5 separate regions of the Homo sapiens genome follow, and regions 1, 2, 3 and 4 are each linked to region 5. Evidence: promoter capture Hi-C in human tissues and cell types (Jung and others, 2019). All regions are on one chromosome and are shown on one strand. The core of a region is centred on a gene start or on the middle of the fragment in contact, and the rest is flanking DNA. Distances in the headings are between cores, read along the strand shown. Region 1 overlaps PTPRT (protein tyrosine phosphatase receptor type T). Region 2 overlaps PTPRT (protein tyrosine phosphatase receptor type T). Region 3 overlaps PTPRT (protein tyrosine phosphatase receptor type T). Region 4 overlaps PTPRT (protein tyrosine phosphatase receptor type T). Region 5 holds the start of PTPRT (protein tyrosine phosphatase receptor type T).

Region 1 (2,798 bases), core at 14-2,513, 810 kb after region 5:
CCACAGGGAGCTAGAGAGAGTGGGATAAGGAAACTGAGGCAGGATGCAGCAGAGGGCAACACTGAAGTTCAAGGTTTTTAAAAATCAGCCTGCAGTAGCATTCTGACCCCAAAGCTATCTACTGAAATAGGGCTTAGGTTCTTAGTGGACTACCAGCCTCACACGTTTACTCTATAGGCCTTGGGCAGGATTGACTATCGAACTCATGGGAGCCAGAGATTAAAGCTTTGGGAGTGAAGGAGTCCTTGATTTTTGTGGGCTTGCTATGGATGGCCAGACTTCATATCCTTCACGTCCCTCTGCAACAGGCCTTTTGAAAGCCCATGAGAAAATGCTCTGACTGCCTTTGTAATCACTTTCCAATCAGCTTCACAGAATTGTAAAATTGATTATCCTGCTGATCTCACACAAGCTTTGGAGGAAAGCATGGGGGCACTTTAATTCTTTGTTGAGTTCTGCACACTGATTCAAGGAGACTTTAGCTTTTCCATTCATGCCCAAGAAGAAGGAAGTTCAAATTACCTTGAAATTACAATTTAGGGGCATCAAGCCTCGGCCAGTCTGTTTCATTTTCCCAATCACCCGGCCAGGGCCAAGGCCGAGAAAGGAGGTACCTGGCATATAACTCCTTTGTAGGAATGTGGAGAAGGGGTGGAGCTGGAGACCGAGCTCCTGCTGCCCTCCACAGGCTCAGGTGCCTCTAGGAAAAGTAAGAGTGAGAGGCTCTGGGAAGCATGCACTGGATGCCTCAAATTTGAGTCTGGTTGTTCTAGGGTCTCCCCATGAGATGATGATTAGGGTGTCATAGTTATACCAAGGCACTCCCACTCATTTTTCTTTGTTTTCCTCTTCTGTTATGATTAAACAGTTGGGATTTCTCTATTGCTGCAGGGAAATGAATAGAACTTTGTCATGCATTTCACCAGCCTAGAGATTCAGGGAAATCTTCCTGCAATAAAGGGGCTTGACCCGGGACTTGAGTAATGACCAGGTGTTGGCCAGTTGTAGAAAATTGGAAGTTCATCACAGACAGAGGTGACAGCATATGCCAAGGCACAGAGGCACTTTGTGGAGCAAGACTGAGGGAGGGAGTGGTAGGCATAAGACTGGGGAGGCTGGGCACGCCAGAGTTGAGCACCTGAAGGCAGAAGCAAAGGCTTACATGTTCAAAACGAAATGCAGCATTCCAAGTGCAAAAATGGAGCTGTGGGGGCACGGTAGAAGCACCAAGTGGGGAATGGTTGCCTTGGAGACTTGCTGGAGCAAGTTGAGTCAGTGTCACACCTGTCAAATTACACATGGAATTCACAAGGAATTTCTTTTTTCTCTAAATGAGGCTGATAAGTATTGAATGCTTACTACATGTCAGAACTATTTTAACAGCTTTGCATGAATTATTTAATCATTTCAAAATCCTGTGAAGGGGATACCATTAGTATCTGCGCTCTACAGATGAGGAAACTGAGCCTCAGGAAGTTAAATAATTTGCAGGTCATAAAACTGGTAACTGGAGGAATCAATATTCAAATATAGGCAGTCTGAACCTAGAGCCCGTATCTTAACCGTGGCACAATGCTGCCTCCAGTGATCTTAAGAAAATAGAGCTTGTTCATTCCTTTGTTCATTCGACAGATACTCACTGAGATATGCCTCAGGTTTTGTGCCAAGTTTTGGGATTACAGGGTTGTGCAAGATGGCAACTTAGATTCCCACATTGGAGAACTCGGTCTAGTGGGGAGACAGAAAATGAGTGAACAATTAACCAAAAAAGATACTATCAGGTTGCAAAGGAAGAGTAAAATAGGGCATCAGGAGAGAAAACACAGGAACTGGAAAGCATCTTTGGTGCCACACAGCCCAAATCCTGACTTTTCGAGATGAAAGAATTGAAGCCAAGAAGAGAGGTGTGATCTCAGAATCATACAGTCAGTAGGTATCTGAGAACAGAAAAAGAATCAAAGACTCCTAATATATTTAAGAGATGTTTATCTGGTGCCTCCCGCTGTCCTAGGCACCAGGAATGCAATGCTGAGCAAGACCATCACGGTCCCTCTCCTTGGGGATCTTACATTCTTTCCCCTACTCTGTGGGGGTTGCTGTGCTGTTTTCAATACACACTTCATTTCATCAAATGTCGGTTTGGCTCCAGAATCTGAATTCTCAACCAGTGAGATGTACCACATCTGTTAAGCCTTCTATTCTGCCCCAACCTCTGCCTCTGAAATAATCAGTCCTCCTCTGGGTAGGACCCCTAGTACTATTTCTGCACTATTAGTTATAATGATGCTATTTTTACTACTGCTACTCTATTGGTGCTCCTGCTGTATTCAGAATACTATCATCCAGGTTCTTCCTATAGTGTTATTTTTGTGAATCACAGCACTAATGCTACCACTTCACTCTGGCTTCATCTTTCTCTTCCTTCACTTTTCTTTTCTGTCCTCCAAAGCCATGTCTTCCACAGGCAATTTACAGAGGTGGCGAACTGAGGCTCAGCGCTAGGAAATGTCTCCTCCACAGTCACAAGGCTCACAACCGGAAGCACAGGATTTTAGGTTGAGGTCGTTTGTTAGGTTGAGGTTTTAGGTTGAGGTCAGTGGTACTTTGAAATTGAGACAAAGAGCTTGCAGCTGAAAGTCTATTGGTGTTTAGAACCTCGTTACACCATGTAGGATCCACCAATTAACAACAGCATCAGAATCTCCTGGGAATGTGTTTGAAATGCAGAATCTCAGGCCCCAGCCCAATCTACTGAATCAGAGTTCAGTTTGGTCGTAAGTTAAAGCTTGCAAAACACT
Region 2 (2,700 bases), core at 125-2,624, 850 kb after region 5:
GGAAAATCAAATAGCCCAACCATTCCCAACACCACCATTTACAACCCCCCCTCCCCCAGTCCTGTGCCTCAGAGGCAAATGCATTTTAATTCTTTGCTCTTTCTTCTGGGAATTGGCAATGTCACTACATAATGTGCTATTTTAAAGTTATCGATTGCAGACATTATCTATTTATTTCCTGCTATGATAGATGGTAACTTGTCTGTCTTAAATCATCCAATACCTCCCTTCCTTCTTTCCAATGTAGTTAAGCCACAGTTTTTTGTTAAATAACTACACAATGGCCAACTTTACAATTCCATAAAAACAGGTCACTTCAGAGCCAAATGGTATATTACTTCTTTTACAGTATAATATAATATGTAAGTATTATATTATTACATAATTAATTTAAAGCTTGCTAAGATTTTAAGTTCTTTATGTATATTAACTCAGTTGATTATCGTCAAAACCCTACCAGGTAGAAACTAGTGTTATCCCTATTTTACAGATGGGGAAACTGAAGTACTGAAAGGTTAACTAACTTGCTCAAGATCATGCAGCTAGTAGCAGCCGATATGAAATTTGAACATAATGGTCTAGCCCCACAGTCTGGAGTGTACTACTATGTTATACTACTTCTAATTACTCTTCTTGTGGGCTTTTTTGTTTAATTCGTTATAGAATGTACAATTATTCTCATTTCTTCAGGCAGTTTATTTATTAAACTATTCATACATTTTTCCTCCCACAGAACTCCATCATTTTAGGTTTGCCTTTAAATACTCTTTTTCCCCTTTTCTTTTCTGCCAATTTCTTCTATTTCCTAAAACAAAACAGAACAACTCCCTCAAAAAAATTCTCAAATTTGTTTATAATTTTGGCAGTCATAATTTTTCATTTTGAGCTACTTACTGTTCTTTGAATTTTTTTTCTTATAACATTCACTTCTTATTTATAGAAGTAATCATTTCTCAAACATCTCAGGATATGATTTTGATTTTGGAGAAGGGGGAAGCTTTTCTGACTCCTGTATTATCTCTGTTTCTTCTAGAGTCATTTTTTTTAATTCACTGCTCTCTTTCATGTTGGAAGCATTGCTTACCTAACCAGTGAACCTCCATAGCCAATATTTAAAAGTAAGGTGTTGAGAAAGTTGACTGGAGGTGCTGTGCTTTTGGAGGCGGAGGCATTCAAATTCTGAAATGAAATCCTCTTCCTATCTCCTGCCTAAGGGGTAGAGGGCAGACACATAGCTCTCCATGTTCAAAGGTTTGATGGTTTTGTGTACAGACTTTTGATAAACACCCCTTTTCAGCCCCACATTTTACTTCCACACTGTCCACACTTGACTACTCCAACATCAGAATCTCTCTTGAAATCTGTGGGGCAAATAAAATCCATTCTTACTCACATGTCTTTGCAATTTGACTTTCTTTATCTCATCACATGTGGTACCTCTCCTCTGACCATTTTTAGGTTTCCAGAATTTTCTTAAAACTGCTCATCCACTGATGTCCCCTCTCCTGTCCTCTTTTTCCTTGTGGATTTCTATGCTTTTTCACATTTCACTGCAATAACAGTGAGGAGATAGAAGAGGTAAATGGAGTACATTAATTCTTCCGCTTTTAACTAGAAGTTCACTTACATTATTGTCTATTGCAGTTCTCAAATAACAAATGATGGAGGCATTATTATCGTATTCAGTTCTTATAAATGCTATCATTTAAATAAATTAAGGAAGATCACATAACCAGTGAGATTCAGAGCTAAAATTCAAGTTTAATGCTGATTCCTGAGCCTATGCTCTTTTTACTTCCAGGTCATAAAAACATTTATGTCTTGAAAACCATTGCCAGATTATTTTCCCCAATTTGATGAATCAATTAAAAATGCTACTGGAATTGTAGAATCCTACCAGTTCAACCACAGCTTCACTGAAATGGCTTGTTATAATTTATGCTTACTTTTACTAATTTAATGCATTTAAATGGGAACATATTGTCATTTTGATTTGCATGTCTTGGCTTACTGGCAAGGCAGAATATTTTTCTAGGTATTTTTATGCTATTAACATTTCTTTTTTGTGAATTTTCTTTTTACATCCTTTTCCTAATTACCTATGGCAGTGGTTCTCAACCAGCGTTAATTTGTCCCTTAAGAGATATCTGGCAATGTCAGGACATATTTTTGTTTATTACAAGTCGGAGGTGATACTGGCATCTAGTTAGTGAGTGGGGGTCAGGGATCCTGCTGAACATCCCACAATGCACAGCACAGCCAGCCCCCTACAACGAAGACTTATCCAGCCCAAAATGTCAGTAGTGCCAAGATTGAGAAACTCTGAACCATGGGGGTCTTAATAGACTTTTTTTTAAAAAAATGTATGATTCACAGGTTCTTGATCTTTTAAATTTGAAGACCCCTTTACACTCTTAAAAATTAATGAAGGCATCAAAGAACTTTTGTTTATGTGGGTTTTGTCTATCAATGTTTACTGTATTAGAAATTAAAGCCAAATTCAAGCCGGGCATGGTGGCTTATGCCTGTAATCCCAGCACTTTGTGAAGCCAAGGTGGGCGGGTCACTTGAGGTCAGGAGATCAAGACCAGCCTGGCCAACATGGTGAAAACCCATCTGTACTAAAAATACAAACATTAGCCAGGTGTGGTGGTGCATGCCTGTAGTTCCAGCTACTCAGCAGGCTGAGGCAGAAGAATC
Region 3 (2,700 bases), core at 153-2,652, 870 kb after region 5:
TTGGGCAATCGATCTTCTGTTTTAGATCATGAGTCCCAGAGATCTGTGCAATAAAGCTCTTCTAAAAGAAGAGCATTTATTCCAGAGAACTATAAACTGTGGGGCATTCAAAGAGATTGAAAAATGTTCTCCAACTTACAAACCTTAAAAGAACTTTTACAAAGAGAGTCTAACATTGGGTATCAGTTGATATTCAATAAAGGATCAGTCATCTCTATTCACACACTAGCATCTTCTTACATCCTTCTAACTTGAAGGGAACAATATGAGATCACTAGACAGGAACTCAAGGCAATCGCTGTTTATCCGATTAGGGTTTCTGCATCCAGGCAGATTTGGTTTCATGTTTGCTTTCAATTTTAATTCAATCCAATTTAATTCATTTGAACAAGCATTCATTGATCACTTGTTGGGTGACAGGCATCCTGCTGGGCAGTATGGGGTGGGGGTGGAGAATGAGGCAGAGATAAGTAAGCAACAATGCCTACTTTGTAAAAGGTCACAATCTAGCCAGTGAAAGAGTAGTCCCATCTCATGATATTGGAAAACAAAGCAGATGGAGATTAGATGAGCTCTAGGGGAACTAAAGAGGGAGGTAATTCATCCAGACTGGACATATCTGGACAGGCTTCATAGAGGAAGTGAAAGACATGCTCAGCCTTTGGAGGAAACCAGAGGTGGCCAGGATGCAGGGCATTGCAGGTAGAGGAAGCATAAGTCAGTAATGCATGAGGTGAGATCCAAAAGATGTCTGTGCAATAGCATGGGGTCTGGAGTAGCTGGAAGATGGGAACACCATGAGAAGACCTTCTAAATGGAAGACAGAAGGCAGGCACAGAGGACTTCAAATGCCAAGATTAGGAGTTCAGATTGTATAATTTGGACAATGGAAGGCCTATGAAAGTGTTTGAAGAGCTATATGATTAGGAAGCCATATGATTAGGATGAGTGATTAATAAATCAAGTGCCTTAGAGGCAAAGAGACTAGTTGAATCTGGGTAAGTGGGAAAGTGTCCAACCAAGGCATTATCAGTGGAAGGAGAAAAGAGAGGTGGGGCAGATGCAAACCTGCAGAAGCCAAATCAACAGACTTCTGTAAGGCTGTTGATTAGGATGAGGAGTGAGAACGAAGGAGTTAAGAACTGAGGATGAGCCCTAGATTCAGATTCTGGCCACTTGTCAGATGCTGCTACCATTTACTAAGAAAGGAAATGTAGAAGGAGGAGCAGACAGGTTTGTAGGGGTTGGGGCTAAGTTGAGTTTTAGATGTGTCTAGTGTGAGCTGGCTCTGAGACAGCTAAGTGGAGGTAAAGTTCTACAACGTGGTAGGTTTGAAAATCTGATGCTCAGGACTGGAGTTTTGTTGTAGACCGAACCAATGCTTCCACATAGGAGAAGTTGGGTTGACACCATTAGAGCTAACAAGCTCATTCTTCCAGAAAGTTGCTCAACCATCTGTGTCTCCTCTTTCCTGTCCAGTGTTTATCAGCTGGTTGTCAAGGAGGAGCGACTTCAGAAGTCACGGAGGGCAGCTGACATTATTGAGTGCTTTTCGGTGCCCGTGAGCTATCGGAATGCCTCCAGCCTCGATTCTCTACACTACTTTGCTGCTGAGTTGAAGCCTGCCAACCTGCCTGTCACCCAGCCATTTACAGTGGGTGACAATAAGACATACAATGGCTACTGGAACCCTCCTCTCTCTCCCCTGAAAAGCTACAGCATCTACTTCCAGGCACTCAGCAAAGCCAATGGAGTAAGTATGGCCACATGGAGGCCATTCCTTGCCTTGTTTGCATTTTTTCATTCTCAAATGATAAGTCAGCAGGGCTCTAGAGCAGAGGATGAAAAACTAAGGCCCGTGGGGCAAATCCTACCTCATGCCTTTAAATTAAAAAAATAATAGTACAGCTATGCCTGTTCATTTACATACTGTCTATGGCTGTTTTGATGCTTAACAGTAAAGTTGAACAGTTGTAACAGAGACTATATGCTCCACAAAGCCTAAGATATTTATTATATGGCTTTTTACATAAAACCTTTGCACACTCCTGTATTAAAGTAAAGAGATGGTGCTTTACTTGAGGAAATTACATGACCTCTCTGATCCTTAAGTTCTTCATATATAATAATAATATCTATCAATTTGCTATCTAGGAATGCACTAATCATGGTTTAGTTGATTAGTGATTAATACGCCCTTTTTCATTGCCATTGGTCACATTAGAAAATAGTGTTTCTCCAAAAACAAAAACAAGGTAACCATTTTTTTTTTTTTTTTTTTTTTTTTTTTTGAGACGGAGCCTCGCTCTGTCGCCCAGGCCGGACTGCGGACTGCAGTGGCGCAATCTCGGCTCACTGCAAGCTCCGCTTCCCGGGTTCACGCAAGGTAACCATTTTTGTGTCAAATATTTCTTTGGTCAAGGATTGGCACCAGTCATAATATTAGAAAATCACAGGGCTGGAAAGCATATCAAAGGTCATTCAACAATCTCAAACACACACAAAACAATGGTTCTATCCATACTACAACACCAATTAACTGGCATTAGTGCTTATTCTTGAATACCTCCAATGACAGAGAACTCATTTATCTCTGAGGTAGCTTTACTGTTTTCTGGAGTAGGGAGTGGGCTGTGTCTCTAAGGAGGCTTTTTAATGTACTTACTGAAATATTTCCTATTGAAGTTTCTATCCATTGTT
Region 4 (2,700 bases), core at 150-2,649, 530 kb after region 5:
GCAGTATTGGTAAGGAATAACAAAGCAGGTTCTTACAGGCATTTCTGCAGGTAAGTTAACTGGTACAGCATGTTAAGAGGACAATTTGCTAATTTTTTTTCTAGCAAAATAATCAGAGCTGCTCAAAAGAGAGTTTCAGACAGAGATCATCACTGCATTATTTATAAGGACAAAGACTTGGAAATCACTTAAATGCACCAACGATTGGAGAGTAGTTAAGTAAATTTTGGTGCACACACACAGTGGAATTCTATGCTAGTATTGTTACAAACTGTTTTTGTGGTATATGTATCTAATGGCATGGGTTAATGTTCATGCTGTAGGAAGTTTTAAAAAAAAGAGCCTACAAAACCACGAGTGTAAGTAATTACTGTGTCAGTTTTGTGAAATATAAATACACAGACCGCATATCAGCTGGGGCCAGTTTACCAGTGAAATCTATGAAGTATTGACCAGAACTCCCCATTTCAAATTCTGCACATGGAGATTTCAAAAAGAGCACATGAGCCCCTGTTCACTGCCTGCCCTGGATTCTAGAACATCAGTCAAATTCTTCTGGCTCCCCTAACTGAACCAAATGTGGACCTGGGCCCTTCCACACCACCCTGCCGAAGCCACATAACAAAGGCTGTTTCCTGCAGCAGCAAACTTCTCTTGGTGTTTGGTGGGACTCAGGCAAGGGGTCGCATTGCCGTCCTGCCCAGCATAGAACTCATCCTTTCTCAGACTTTAAAAGTCCTTTCAACAGGCAAGAAATTTTCACCTCTTTCTGTTTCCTCCCTCCCAAATTGCCCACAGGTGCAGCAAAGTCTTCTCATTCAAGTTCCTAGAGCAGTTCAACTTTCTCTAGACTCTATTTCCAGGCCCCTCTTTGTACATCTTTTGCACTGAACTGAACATTAAGTGGGGTTGGGGGAGGGCGGCTCATTCTGAGATCAAAGTGTTTCTTTGAATGGAAACAACCCTTCTTAAAATATGTATTTTAACCTATCTGCCCTTGGGTATAGGTACAGAGACAGACATGCCATATATATGTCTGTATATTATGTATATATATTCATGTATATATATAAATACACACACACATACACACACACACACACACACATATATTCAGGTATTGAGACTGTGGGTCACAAAAATTTATATAATTTAGAAATTGTTGTACCCATTGGAGTCAAATGTGAATGTGAATGATTGTTATAAATTGTAAAACACTCTATATGAGGGTATTTTTATTAGTTAGTGAATCATTGACATTTTTGGACAGTACAGAAACAGTCCCAAATTTGCTAAGCCCTGAGATGCAAACCAAGCTTCAAGCTCAGTGTTCAAATAGAGTAAGGGACAGTTAAATAGGGGGTTTGCTTTCAGTCCCATCAGAGTTTTAATGCTAGATTCACTCCTTAGGATGCTGGACAGCCTTGGGCAATTGCTTGACCTCTGTGAATCAGTTTCCCCCTCTGTTAATTAGTATAATGCTGCTTACCTCACTGGATAGAAATACAGGTCATTAATATTAATGATGGCTAATAATGCTCTGCAAGGCTTACCCCACTGACTTTGCCTGCAAACCTATAACCCCATGAGGTAGGTTTTATCATGACCATTACTACCAAGGCCAGAGAGATTTAGTGTTTTGCTCCAAGTCACACAGTTTAGGAAGTAGCTGAGGTTGGGGCCTACTGAGTCCGATTAGAGTCCTGCTCTGGACCCAGCTGACCATAGAACTCTAAGTACAATGCTTAGAACTTAGTAGGTGCTTAGTAAATTGGAGCCTTTGGTACTTTAACACCTAGGGGCTCACTTTCTCTCTCATTATCAATATATTACCTACTTATATGTTTCAAACTGGTAGTAACCAGTTTTGGCAAGGAACGAAGTAGGCTCTTAACAGGCATTTCTGCAGGTGAGTTAACTGGTACAACATATTAAGAGGACAGTATGCTATCTTTTTTCAGTTTCTCTCTCATTACCTAGGCCCTAGGCCTTCCTCACCATTAAACCCCAAAAATCCTCATTGCCATGAGTCTGAGGGGCTAGCCCTTTGCTGTGTTCACAAAGCTCACTCTATCAAGAGCTTGGTATGCAGCCTCAGCCAAAATGATGCCTGAGCCAGAGGAAGCCAAGGGCACCCTGTCCATTGCTGGCCATTCTGGAACGCAGAGGTCTCCCTGCAGTGAGAAGAATGGGAGAGTTATCCTGAGCAGTGAGCCCAAACCTGGCTTGGTGCAGAGAAAAAGACTCTGCCTGACAGAAAAGAGGAAAACCAGAGTGTCAGTTGTTTCTAAATCCCACCCACTATTGGCTTGAGCCACAAGTCATCCTGAGATTCTTGAGATGAGGTGTAGCAGGAGGTGAGAGTGGGAGTTAGGGGGTCTCGAAGGTCAATGGGAATCCACCAGAGAGTGGTTGTCCATCCACCACGGCCATGTAGATTTTCCTTGATGGGGCTTCTTAATCATTAGAAGCTTGTAACTTTTCCAGCCAACCCTTTTCCCACCTGGGCTTAGGGCGGAAAATGGATGCAGCCACTATAACTACTCTGGTGGTGGCTGCCATTTTACTTCTTTATCTTCTTCATCTTTATACTTGAAAAAAAGAGGTAGCACATTTTTGAAATTTGAAAGTAACCTTTTGAAAATAGGAAATGTATTTCATATTCCAATTAAATATATATTTTTTGCTTGTGTCTATTCC
Region 5 (2,700 bases), core at 29-2,528:
GGCCACTTTACCTAGTGGGGACTGGGAACTGGGGACTGACAGAGTGACGCCCTGTGTTCTCTGCCATGCCAACTTGGGTCCAGAGCCTGGGGCTCCCCACTTTTGGAAACCCTGCCATGCTTGATTTTCACAATTCACTTACAGTCTCCCCAGTCCAGTCCCTGGTACCCCAACAAGGATGGGGGTGGGGGGCTGTGCTGACACAGAAGAAGGAGGGCTTTGGCCAGGTAGCAAAGTGTTCACAAAGTGTGAATCCCTTAAGCATTTCTGGGTATCCCTGCCCCTGGCTTTTACATCTCAGACCCCCAGCCAAGACTCAGGTACCAGCTGCCTCCCAGGACAGCAGAGAGCCAGGCTGTGGGCCGTGGGCTGCCAGGGACAGCTCCAACCCTGATCTATGGTTTTAGGCTTTCAGCCCCAACCAGGTCTTTGTTAAGACCGAGAAGAAAAGGGAAAAAGCTACAAGGTTCTGTCTCCCTAGAAAAGGAAAGGGAAGGCTGCCAGGGAAAAATTGTAGGGGGTGGGGGGATGCCTCATGCCCCTTCTGCGCCCCCTTCCGCGTGGTGGTGGGGACAAGAGAGAGATGTGGGTGAAGAAGAAGGTGGGGTGGGCGGCTAATTGAGGGGGACGACGATTGTGGCGCGGTCAGCGATGCGCCCAGAAGAGTGTGAGTGGGTTGTGTGTGTGTGCGCGCGCGCGCTCTTAGATGAAATTCTCATCTCAGGGTGTGCCCGAGACCCTGGCCAGCAGCCGCCTGCCCCAGCTTTGGGCAGACGCCCCCACCCGCTTTCGCAATTCACCTGGCCCCTTATCTTGAGTTGCGAGGGCTGCTCCCTCCCTCCCTCTTCTCGCCACCGAACCCCCATTCACCTGTTCCCCACCCCGAGTTCAAACGGCTGCTGCAGCTTCCTCCTCCCCGCACCGCCCCCGTACCTGCGCCCCCACAGGGCAGACGATGCTTGGCTGCGCGGCGCGGCGCGGGGCGAAGAGGCGAGGACCCTGCCCGGCGTGTGGGTGCGGGGGTGATGTGTGGACGCGCGTGACTGTGCCAGCGGCCCGAGCTGGTCGGCCCCGGAGAGGGTGCGCGGGGGAGCCCGCGTGTGCCAGCCGCGGGCGTGTGCCAGGCGCGGGCGTGCGCGTGAGGGTGTGTGCACGGCCGAGGCGGAGCGCCCGGGCGGGCGGCGGCGGCGGCGGCGGCGGCAACGGCGGCGGCGTTAGGACTCGGGGGACACCGCCCCCCGCCCCCCGCGTCCCGCCCCCGCCCAGCCTCCCGCCTCAGTTCGCGCCGCGCCTCGGCTTGGAACGCAGGAGCGCCGGCTCCGGGAGCCCGAGCGGAGCCAGCCGCGCGCACAGCCAGCGGCCGCGCCGGCGATGCGGGGCCACCCCGCGCCCGCCCCAGTCCCGGCCCCGGCCCCCGCGGGAAGGGGCTGAGCTGCCCGCCGCCGCCCGGATGGCGAGCCTCGCCGCGCTCGCCCTCAGCCTGCTCCTGAGGCTGCAGCTGCCGCCACTGCCCGGCGCCCGGGCTCAGAGCGCCGCAGGTGAGTGCGCCCGCCCGGCTCCCCTGGGCTCCCCGCTCCCTCCTGGATGCGCGCGGGCCCCCAGCCGCGGGGCCCTCGGAGGAGAAAGTTGTGTGGGCTCGCGGGGGCGCGGGTCCCCATGGCCGGAACCCGGGTCTCAGCTTGCAGGCGCGGGAAGCAGTGTCCCCGCGCGCCCCGGCCAGCGAGCCCGGCCCCTCGCGTCCCTCGGCAGCCCGCGTTTGGCGAAGTTCCCCGCTTCAGTTTCCTGCCGGCCCCCCGGGCTGGAGTAACTTTCCGCGGTTGTTGCGAATATTTCCACTTGCTGCCTCCCACTTGTCGGAATCTGCCACTTGAGTGTTTGGGGCGGCGAGACGAGGAGCGGCACCGACGCCCGGGGTGGAGCGTTCTCTCCCGGGCAGCTCCTCGGGCAGCGCGCGCTTTTAGTGGGGAGGACAGGTCCCCAGCAGGCCGAGGCTGCCGGGGCGGCGGCTTTTCTTTTTTCCTCGGAGATACAGGAAGCTCTCCATTTGCTCTGAACACGCTGCTCCCCTAAGCAGGCCGCTGTAGGCACCCGAGGGGATGTTTGCGTTGATGACCGAGAGCAATACCTCCGCCCTACCCGCTGGCTTTTCTCCGAGGTAGCTGGGCGCCCGTGTTAAGGCCCTTGGAGGGGAGTGGATTTGACCCGTGAGCGCGTCCGCTCCTGAAAAGTTCGGGGAACTCATATTTGGGTTTGGCCACGGGAAGGCGGTGAGCAGAGGTAGTTCCCCAGAGTAGGGGGAGCGGGGGCGGGGGGGTGGTGCCTGCCGTGCTCCTAAAGGCACGTTGGCGGGTGCTGGAGGGCACCACAGTCCAGGGTCTTACACATCACCAAGCCCCACCGCAGGCAGCTTCCACCCCCGAGCCCCCCCCCCCCCAAGAGTAGCGGCGGAGGGAAGAGAAGGGAGTGCTGCAGGTGTACTTCCAAGTTCAAAATCACCTTAAAGTTTCTTAGCACCGATTGCTTTTGGTGTAACCACGCCGGCCTGAGGTGGCTGGGATTGCGGGGACAGGCTGAGATCAGCCCGTGGGACGCAGGAACAGGCTGGTTTCGGATCGCTAAGCAACAGCTGTGCCCATTTATTATTTCACCGAAAGAAGGAAAGGAAGAAAGAAAGAGCAAAAGAACGAACCTGTGGGGAGG

What was found. The method cuts DNA at HindIII sites, captures the fragments that hold promoters and counts their contacts. A contact is called where the count stands out against the background at its distance.
Region 1: a contact is called between a fragment that was not itself captured here and the fragment with the promoter of PTPRT in region 5, in 2 of the 25 tissues and cell types used here (dorsolateral prefrontal cortex and heart left ventricle).
Region 2: a contact is called between a fragment that was not itself captured here and the fragment with the promoter of PTPRT in region 5, in 1 of the 25 tissues and cell types used here (dorsolateral prefrontal cortex).
Region 3: a contact is called between a fragment that was not itself captured here and the fragment with the promoter of PTPRT in region 5, in 1 of the 25 tissues and cell types used here (dorsolateral prefrontal cortex).
Region 4: a fragment that was not itself captured here is called in contact with the fragment with the promoter of PTPRT in region 5 in 1 of the 25 tissues and cell types used here (H1 embryonic stem cells).

What each region holds. Positions count from the first base shown.
Region 1 is chr20:42,377,438-42,380,235 of GRCh38, reverse strand. All of the region lies in intron 9 of PTPRT (protein tyrosine phosphatase receptor type T), which reads left to right. Among named protein-coding and RNA genes, the nearest start is that of PTPRT-AS1, 590 kb to the left of the region's middle. The HindIII fragment of the contact is 3,599 bases long and covers 1-2,798 here.
Region 2 is chr20:42,333,784-42,336,483 of GRCh38, reverse strand. The region is part of intron 11 of PTPRT (protein tyrosine phosphatase receptor type T); the gene reads left to right. Among named protein-coding and RNA genes, the nearest start is that of PTPRT-AS1, 630 kb to the left of the region's middle. The HindIII fragment of the contact is 3,717 bases long and covers 1-2,700 here.
Region 3 is chr20:42,314,776-42,317,475 of GRCh38, reverse strand. PTPRT (protein tyrosine phosphatase receptor type T) reads left to right here. Exons shown (of 31, transcript NM_007050.6): 12 at 1,480-1,753. Among named protein-coding and RNA genes, the nearest start is that of PTPRT-AS1, 650 kb to the left of the region's middle. The HindIII fragment of the contact is 7,545 bases long and covers 1-2,700 here.
Region 4 is chr20:42,661,375-42,664,074 of GRCh38, reverse strand. All of the region lies in intron 7 of PTPRT (protein tyrosine phosphatase receptor type T), which reads left to right. Among named protein-coding and RNA genes, the nearest start is that of PTPRT-AS1, 310 kb to the left of the region's middle. The HindIII fragment of the contact is 4,745 bases long and covers 1-2,700 here.
Region 5 is chr20:43,188,484-43,191,183 of GRCh38, reverse strand. It overlaps PTPRT (protein tyrosine phosphatase receptor type T), which reads left to right and starts at 1,278. Exons shown (of 31, transcript NM_007050.6): 1 at 1,278-1,538. The coding sequence starts at 1,451. PTPRT-DT (PTPRT divergent transcript) reads right to left here and starts at 1,119. Exons shown (of 3, transcript NR_186414.1): 1 at 934-1,119. The HindIII fragment of the contact is 13,787 bases long and covers 1-2,700 here.